Linked DNA regions of Homo sapiens: region 1 is linked to region 2. The links are contacts of gene promoters, found by promoter capture Hi-C in blood cells and fetal thymus (Javierre and others, 2016). All regions are on one chromosome and are shown on one strand. The core of a region is centred on a gene start or on the middle of the fragment in contact, and the rest is flanking DNA. Distances in the headings are between cores, read along the strand shown.

Region 1 (4,356 bases), core at 1,067-3,566, 2.7 Mb after region 2:
GCTCCGCCGGCAGCGGAGGGGACGCCTTCTTCACGCCCTGAGATCGCAAAGGAGAGCAAAATTCCCATCCCAAAGTCCTGCGGGACCGGCTTCCCCACCCGACGAACTTACCCCAGGGCTGAACGCACGCTGCTTTAGCTCCTTGCCTCGTTCCTTCCTCCCGGGCGCGACGCGAGGTGAAAATGATGCGCACGTAGATTTGTAGAGCGTATTCTTGAGAATTTCCCTGGGATGAATCGGGAGGAGCGGTGGAGACTCCGGAGACAGGTGCCGCGCTGGTCTGGGCTGCCGGCTAAAAGTTGTCCTCCGCGCGGTGGGCGGTGGGGTCCCCGGCCAGGGCCAAGGACCCCGGCTCCCTGCCCCCCGGCGTCGCCCACTTGTCACGCCAGGCTGCTGCGTGCACTCGGCTGCAGGGGAGGTGGCGTAGTTTCTCTTCCTCCCACCTCTTCTCACTCACTTGTTTTTGTAGCCGTGGGCTCCCCTAATGCTTTCCTCTCCACAATGTTGTTTCATTATATCATGTCCATCATGTGACACCAGAGAGGCCTCTCTATGGAAACTTAAAGGGGCTCCCACGTGACTGCAGCAGCAACAACAGCAGCAGGACTGGCGGCGGCGGCCGCAGCGGCGTCCGTACCTCCACCCACCGGGAGCCCCTCGAAGCATCCCGGAGGGGCTTCTGGCGCTGCAGGAGCCCCGATCGGGGAGCCACAGCATCCGGGAGCCGTGGTGTCTGTGCGTGCGTGGAGCCTGTGCTCATGACATAGGAAGCCGAACAGAAGGAGCGTCCTCAAATCCTTTCCTACAGTCACCAAACCCACGCTCTGTTAAAATGACATTTCGTGGCTCCTACTTTGTTTCCCCGGAGAGCAATGAGTTTTCTATCAGGCCTGATTTAGTTTGACAAAAGTCAAAAAGAAAAACTGGATTTGTCCCTCTGCGAGTTCAGTCAGATCGCTGGGAAAACAGAAATGACAAAACAATAATAACAGAAATAGAACCAGGCATTTGATACATAATTACCATCACCACGGCTTTCAAGCTTTCTGGAATTACGTTCCTCCAGTAACTGTTGATGATGCTTGCAGGAGGCAAAATGCAATGCAGTTTTTCTCTTCCGCAGCTATATTAGGGCTTTGTTGCTGACAACAGTGAAAACTTGTTTGTGTCAGGAAGTGAGGTACGGAGATATGACCTGGAAGGTACAGACAAAACCAAAGTGGCAGTTTTTGCATTACTTTTCTGACCACATTCTTTCAAATGGTGACAAGAAGGCGGTCTGCTGTAAAATTCGTGGGGTGTTTGATGGGAAACAAAATAATCAGAAAAACATAATTATCCCTAGCCATACCATACTTGCTAGACGCTAGAAAGTATACATATATGTAATCTCTGTATACATAGAGAAAGCAAAAAGCATGTGCACTTTAATATTTTTGAACCACTAATTTTGTCATCATTTGTACCATTAACAAACACTTGGAAAGACTCACTCAAGTCCAGGGATGTGTGGAAACTCACAATGTTGAGTGCTGTGGGTATTACTGACTCACAGTCCCTTAAAGGGTTTGTACCATAAATCCCAAATTTCTGCCTTAAAGTTTTTACAGACATGGAGATTTTATCCTGTAAATCTAAGCCAGATAGCTATTTCTGGGTTTTTTAGTTCATGCTTTTCCATTTTATAAAGGAAACTGTGTGGATTGGCGGAATCAAGAAAAACTTCGCAAGAAACTGAAGAGTGGGATGGAAGATCTTTTCGTTTGGCCTTGCCTTGACTCTGTCTCTCTCCACCTCATCAGTTTACTTCATCAGCCATGATGAATGAGCTCCATTCCAACCCTTCTAATTCTATAATATCTCTCCCAAGTTTTACCTTCCTATCTCATGCCTAATTCTTTTCATCCCTTTCCTCCTACCTCCCTTGCCTCCCAACTCAGCCCCTTTTCTGCCTGGGGGCTCAGCTCGGGCCTCCCCAAAGACTGTACCCCCCACCCTCCCCTGCAGCTACCCCCACCCCCACGCCCTTCCCAGCTCGGCCTCTCTTCTTTGCAACTCTACCTCCTTACCTCTTTTGACCTCTAATCACCTTCACAGTCTGGCCCTTGACTTCTGGGCCTCTTCTTACCTCTCTTTACCTGAAATGTCCTGGCCCTCACTGGGGTCTCCTCCACACCCTTCTCTCTGGTCCCATCCCTTCTGCTGCCAAGCCCCAGCGTTCCTCCGGCTCGGCCTGGTCAGCTTGAGCCTCATTTTGTTCGCGTGCCCCTGGGCTGGGAAAGGAGTGTGTGGTGCACAGTGGGGCCAAGGATCCCCTGGGGCCGCGGCCTCTGCCTCGCCCCCTCCACCCCTCCCGAGTCCCGGTTGCGGCGCTTCCTGGGCGGATGGCTTGAAATTGCTGCAGCAGCTGCGGTTCTGCTGTGTCATGCAAGAAGGAGGCGGCGGCGGCGGCGGCGGCGGCCGGAGCTGGAGGGGGAGGAGGGGAGGAACCTGATCCTCCGGTAGCGAAGGGCTAGAGGCAAACACCGAGCTCCTCCAGAGCCGCCCGGGAGCAGGGAGGGCTCCGCTAGCCCGGGGGGCCCTCCCCGCGGGGCAGATGGTAAGTGGGGCGGTGCAGGTGGTCGCCTTGGGAAGGGAGCGCGCAGGGGGGTAAGGTGGGGCGGCGGGAAGTGCTAGAAGTCACCCCAGCCAAACTGAAGGAGCCCAGTTTCCAGCTGAGAGGGACCCAGGCCGTAATAAGGATGTCCAGCCAAACGCAGCAATAATTACTATTGGAGTGACGCCCCGAAGTTGACCCCAAGCTACACAGAGGGTGGAGTGGTGCATCCTGAACCCAGGACAGAGCTGGAGGCAATGATTCAGGGTTTGAGAAGTATCAGCCCATCGGCCTGGCGCTTTAAGGTGCAGCTGAGTAGGAAAAGCCAACCCACATCATATTCCCAGAGCCTTGCTGCGCTTTCTGGGTTGTCTTGTTCAAAACTAGTGAAAGGGATGGGAAACCTGCCCAACCTCACTTTAGCCACGAAAATAATGCTCTTGGCCAGTGGCCTTGGACAAACAGCCTCTGGTGCAACAAAACAATCAATAGGAAGAAGAACTTCATTCCCCTCACCATCCTCCTTCCCCAAGTTCCTTTGACCAGCATACCTCATTCGGCTTAAAGGAGAAAGAAAACTATGTGTGACATTCCCTCCCAGCCTACCTGCAGCCAGCCTCCTCACCACACAAACTGCCCATCCCGCTTCTCTCCTCATCTTCAGAGCCATGATTCCAAGAGACATTGCAATACTACTCACTTTAGGTGAGAAGACTGCCTGAAACTCTGAACAATTTCACCTCCCTTGCCCTTTGCCACAGGGGATTCAGAAACCTACAACTGAGAGCAGGGAAATATACGGACAGGCTTGGCACGTAGGAACATTACTTCCTTCACTGGAGTGTAGTTCTCCAGACAACTTTTTAATTATGATTATTCCCTTCCATTGCACTCCTGGAAATTTCAAAGCACTTTCTAAAACATCATTTTTTTTATGTCAGTCATACATTTAGAGGTAAGGGGTTGATGGGATTAACTGAAAGGCTAATGACTGTCTCAAAAGCACATGCTGTTGCTAGGGAACCCAAGCTCCTGCTGCTCTCTAATCACCAGCGTGTTCCGTGGAAATCAAACTGCTCAGGGTGTTATTAAAATGAATGGCATCGGGTTAAAGGCATTCTTGCTTATGTTGTAGCATCCTGGATTATTATCGATTGCCTCACACCCACATATCTTGTTTTCCTAATTTGATTTCTGTATTTGCGTCACTGCCAGGGACACTCAGACTAGACCAGTCAGTTCACTTCCTGTTTCTCAGAACTGGTTTATATTTGGTCTCGTAGCACTAGCTGGTAAAACATTATCAAACTGATCCTCTTGGAAAGAAATCTTTGCTTCCCATTGAAAACAAAATATTCCAATTAAATTGTAATTCCTGTGGAAAACGTCATCATTTGAGGAGTAGACTGCCAGTTGCCATTTGAGAAACAATCCTTGAAATGTAAAGCCTAGAAAAAAAAAACATCATCTTGATTTCTTTTACCCAGAATCTTCATTCCTCAGCACTAGAACTAAGACAAACTCGAGTAAAGAGTAGATTTAAGTATACTTCTAAAATGAAACGCATAAATAAATAAATAAATAAATAAATAAATACATGTCGAAGCTGGGGAAATCATTTAGACTAAACAAGGCATAAAATTGAATGGAATCCAGGCCCAGGAAGGACAAGTAATTTTGGGTTAGCATTGTGGCATTCGGAGAACACAGTGTGACTACAAGGCTACACTACAAATAGGAAACCCCATCACTTTGTGTAC
Region 2 (4,226 bases), core at 1,102-3,601:
TAAAATCCCAGTTCCCCAAGCAAAACATTACCACCCTACTTATGTACTTACTTCTAAACTCTACCCCACACTGCCTTGGGTTGTTAGTTATCTTATCTTATTCAGGTCTTGTTTACTCAACCAGGTGACAAGCTTATTTAGAACAAGAATCTGGCTTTATACTTTTTAGCAAAATAATAGCTACTATTTGTTGAGCATATATGACATACTCTTTATGGGCATTATTTCCAACCCTCACAACAACCCTGTTTTACAGATTATTTTCCTCATTTTACAGATAAGGAAACTAAAGTTCAAAGGGGTCAGTTAGCCTGGCCAAGGTGTTGAAGGCAGGACTAAATCCTGATGCAGGTAGCTACATTTGTAGCTGACAGAATGGTAAAGCATAGAGCTGCCCTCACCCAAACCCTTCTTATTTCCAACTGGCATGACCTTTAGACAATGGCAGGGAATATGGGGAGAAAGAATTGTTGGAGAGGTGCCCATCCCTTCTTCCAGCTGTGTGAAGTATAAATTTAGAACTCAAACTAAGTAGAACTCAAATGGTCATTGTAGAATTCCTGCATTCATTCAGCAAGCCTAGGCTGCTAATGAGCAAAACCCCTCACTGGGAGTTTTGTAGTTGATGATACAGATAATGTTAAGATTCATAGAATGTTTTTTATGTGCCAGGCATTGTTCTAAGCGCTTTATATGGATTAATTCATTTAATATCAGGTTAAGACTGTTATGATCTCACAGAACAGCTGAGGAAACAGAACTACAAGAAGGTTAAAGGGTTCGCCCAAGGCCTTCACCTGGCAAAGTAGTGGCGTTTGGATCTGGCAGTGATTTCGCAGCTTGAGACCTATTTAATAACAGTGTGAGAGAAGGGTCACACAGTCAAGCAAAAAAACAGACGAAACTCTGGTATAGCGAAGGACCAAAAGTTCTGCGGGCTGAGCAGGAAAGTTGGCTCCAAATGTCTGCCTGCCTGCCAGCAGACCTCCAGCCCCAACCTTCTGCTTTCCCGGCTTCCCCACCCCCTCATTCCCGACAGACCACAGCCAGCCAGCCAGGAAAGGAGGGGAAAGGTCGCAGTGGGGATGGCTCCTCCCTTCCCGTCTTAGAGCCCTTCTTAAGCAGAGCCCGCCGAGCTCGCTGAGATGTGGAAAGTCACAGGGTTCTTTCCCATCCGGCACGGGCACTTGACCCGGGTACACGGAACCGCCAGTTCTAAAGCCACCAGCGGCCTTCCCTTCCACGGCGTGTACACCCCTTCCCGGGGGTCCTCCCCATTCCCAGTGTCTCTCCGGGACTCTACTTTCTGAGATCCCCCGTTGCGTGCTCTCAAGACAGACCGCACAGTCTTGGCTGGGTGGGTTCGGGGGTGATTAGTAAGGCAGCCTAGCCCCCCAAATCTGGACATAAGGCTGGTCTGTGACCTCCTGGCTCTTTAGTTCAAGCCGAAAGCACCCTTAAAAATCATCTAGCGGCCGGGCGCGGTGGCTCACGCCTGTAGCCCCAGCACTTTGGGAGGCAGAGGTGGGAGGATGGCTTGAGATCAGGAGTTCGAGACCAGCCTGGGCAACATAGCGAGACTGTCTCTATTTAAAAAAAAAAAAGAAGAAGAAGAAGAAAAATCATCTAGTGGCCAATGTCTTCATTACAGATGAGAAAACCGAGGCCCATTTAAATACCAAGTGACTTGCCCATATGCAGTTAGGATCCCACACCAGGGCCAGGAGTATTTCACGTTTTCTGAAGCGACACGACAAACTCTCATAGAAAGCAGAGCTTGCAGAGCTTAATATGTTGCACAAGGGCCTCACCATTCCAGAGATACCGATGGCAACTGAAACTCGGGATTTGGAATCTTGGTACAGCTATGAAGTGAAACAAAACCAGCTCTTCAGTCCTTGAAATGAAGAAAATAACGAGTGGGGTAGGGGTCTGGTGCCCTCTGACAATTTAGTGCACCCGAAATCTCTGGGGAAGAACCCACCCTTCACGGCGGGGCTTCACGGACACGAAGGCCATCGGTGTTTTTCACCTACTGGGGAGAAGGGATATGTGCTCTCTGACTCCTTCAAATGTTTTCTACAGCAGAGATGGCAGTCGAGATTAATACACACGCCTCGTCTCACTCCAGAACACAATGACTCAAAACCGCACGACGTGTACTTTTGGAAACAGCTCCGCGGGAGAGCACCCGGGACAATCCCCAAACCCCGTTGCCCGCGGGGTGGGGCCGCGGACGTGCGCCACGTCGTGTGCGTCCCGGGCGTGCGTGCGGCCTCCAGTGCGCGTGCGCGTACCCTCCTGGGGCGTGCTCGCGGCTATAAGGGGCGGAGGCTGGGCGGCGTTGCTCTGCGCTCTGCGGCTGACGGCGCTTTTGTCTCCGGTGAGTTTTGTGGCGGGAAGCTTCTGCGCTGGTGCTTAGTAACCGACTTTCCTCCGGACTCCTGCACGACCTGCTCCTACAGCCGGCGATCCACTCCCGGCTGTTCCCCCGGAGGTGAGCGGCCCTGTGGGCTTCCCCGGCTCCCCACCCCCATCGCTAGAGTGCTCGCCGCGCTAGCAGCCTCGCGTTCCAGGGCTGGGGGTGCGCCGCCGGGATCCTCTCTGATCGCCCACGCCCCATCTGGGGTCCCCATTCAGCCGTCAGCCCTGTTTTGTCCTAAGGTGGTCCTAACTAGGATCCACGTGGCCCATCCCACGCCCACAGGTGCTGAGTTAGGCATCCCTGCCATGCCCTCCCAGAGCACCTTCACGATCTCCTTGCTGTCCCAACACTTAGCGTGTTGCGTGTTAACTACCCTTTGTCTATAAGGTTTGCAATGTGGCCCTAGTATCTTCCAGGGTACCTAACACATTGCAGATATTCATGGTATGTTTGTTAAATAAATGAACTTGATAGATTTGACCCTCATAGAGTTATTTGGACTTGCAAAAAGTTTGTAGTTAACTCCAATCTGTGATGTGGGAGAGACTTCTAGGCAGGTTCCTTTCTCCAGGGCATGTTCTTATATTTCCCATTACCCACCACCCCCCTGCAAAAGGACTGGGCCTATTTCAGGAAGGTGACTGATGCCTGCACTGTAGCACAGGGGTTGTGTATTGTGCCTTGCAGGAACAAAATTTTCAATAAAGTAAATGTTTGTTTGTTTGTTTTTGAGACGGAGTTTTGCTTTTGTTGCCGAGGCTGGAGTGCAATGGCGCGATCTTGGCTCACTGCAACCTCTGCCTCCCGGGTTCAAGCAATTCTGCCTCAGCCTCCCGAGTAGCTGGGATTACAGGCATGTGCCACTATGCCCGGCTAATTTTTGTATTTGTAGTAGAGACAGGGTTTCACCATGTTGGTCAGGCTGGTCTCGAATTCCTGACCTCAGGTGATCCACCCGCCTCGGCCTCCCAGAGCGCTGGGATTACAGGTATGAGCCACCGCGCCTGGCCTAAGAAAGTAAAAGTTTTAAGAAGTGTTCTTGAATTAGTCCAAGAAGCAACACTGGCTCCGCAGCCATGAAGTTTGCAATGTAAAATATTCTTGGAGAGTTGCTGTGCAACTCCCTGGTCCCTGTGTCCCTCACTGGCTAAGCCTCTCCTTCAGCCCTGTGAGAGGACAGAAGAGTCAGGGCTGGATGCATGCATATCCCCAAAAGGCTATAGATTCATCCTTTCCTCTTTTTTCTCAGGGTCCAGAGGCCTTTCAGAAGGAGAAGGCAGCTCTGTTTCTCTGCAGAGGAGTAGGGTCCTTTCAGCCATGAAGCATGTGTTGAACCTCTACCTGTTAGGTGTGGTACTGACCCTACTCTCCATCTTCGTTAGAGTGATGGAGTCCCTAGAGGGCTTACTAGAGAGCCCATCGCCTGGGACCTCCTGGACCACCAGAAGCCAACTAGCCAACACAGAGCCCACCAAGGGCCTTCCAGACCATCCATCCAGAAGCATGTGATAAGACCTCCTTCCATACTGGCCATATTTTGGAACACTGACCTAGACATGTCCAGATGGGAGTCCCATTCCTAGCAGACAAGCTGAGCACCGTTGTAACCAGAGAACTATTACTAGGCCTTGAAGAACCTGTCTAACTGGATGCTCATTGCCTGGGCAAGGCCTGTTTAGGCCGGTTGCGGTGGCTCATGCCTGTAATCCTAGCACTTTGGGAGGCTGAGGTGGGTGGATCACCTGAGGTCAGGAGTTCGAGACCAGCCTCGCCAACATGGCGAAACCCCATCTCTACTAAA

The links. Contacts are between HindIII fragments. The CHiCAGO score rates a contact against its expected background, and 5 or more counts as called.
Region 1: a contact is called between the fragment with the promoter of LINC-PINT here and the fragment with the promoter of HILPDA in region 2, in 1 of 17 cell types (total B cells). The highest score is 5.3, in total B cells.

What each region holds. Positions count from the first base shown.
Region 1 is chr7:131,107,609-131,111,964 of GRCh38, forward strand. LINC-PINT (long intergenic non-protein coding RNA, p53 induced transcript) reads right to left here and starts at 2,317. Exons shown (of 8, transcript NR_170176.1): 1 at 2,129-2,317; 2 at 112-1,195. It also overlaps a transcript of MKLN1 not described here. RefSeq lists silencers at 206-255, 276-335, 2,393-2,442, 2,523-2,672, 3,823-3,882 and enhancers at 318-1,169, 3,564-4,105. The HindIII fragment of the contact is 3,581 bases long and covers 1,041-4,356 here.
Region 2 is chr7:128,453,527-128,457,752 of GRCh38, forward strand. It overlaps HILPDA (hypoxia inducible lipid droplet associated), which reads left to right and starts at 2,352. Exons shown (of 2, transcript NM_013332.4): 1 at 2,352-2,497; 2 at 3,675-4,226. The coding sequence starts at 3,743. The coding sequence ends at 3,934. It also overlaps the pseudogene EFCAB3P1. RefSeq lists enhancers at 380-1,086, 1,995-2,164 and a silencer at 2,265-2,404. The HindIII fragment of the contact is 2,271 bases long and covers 131-2,401 here.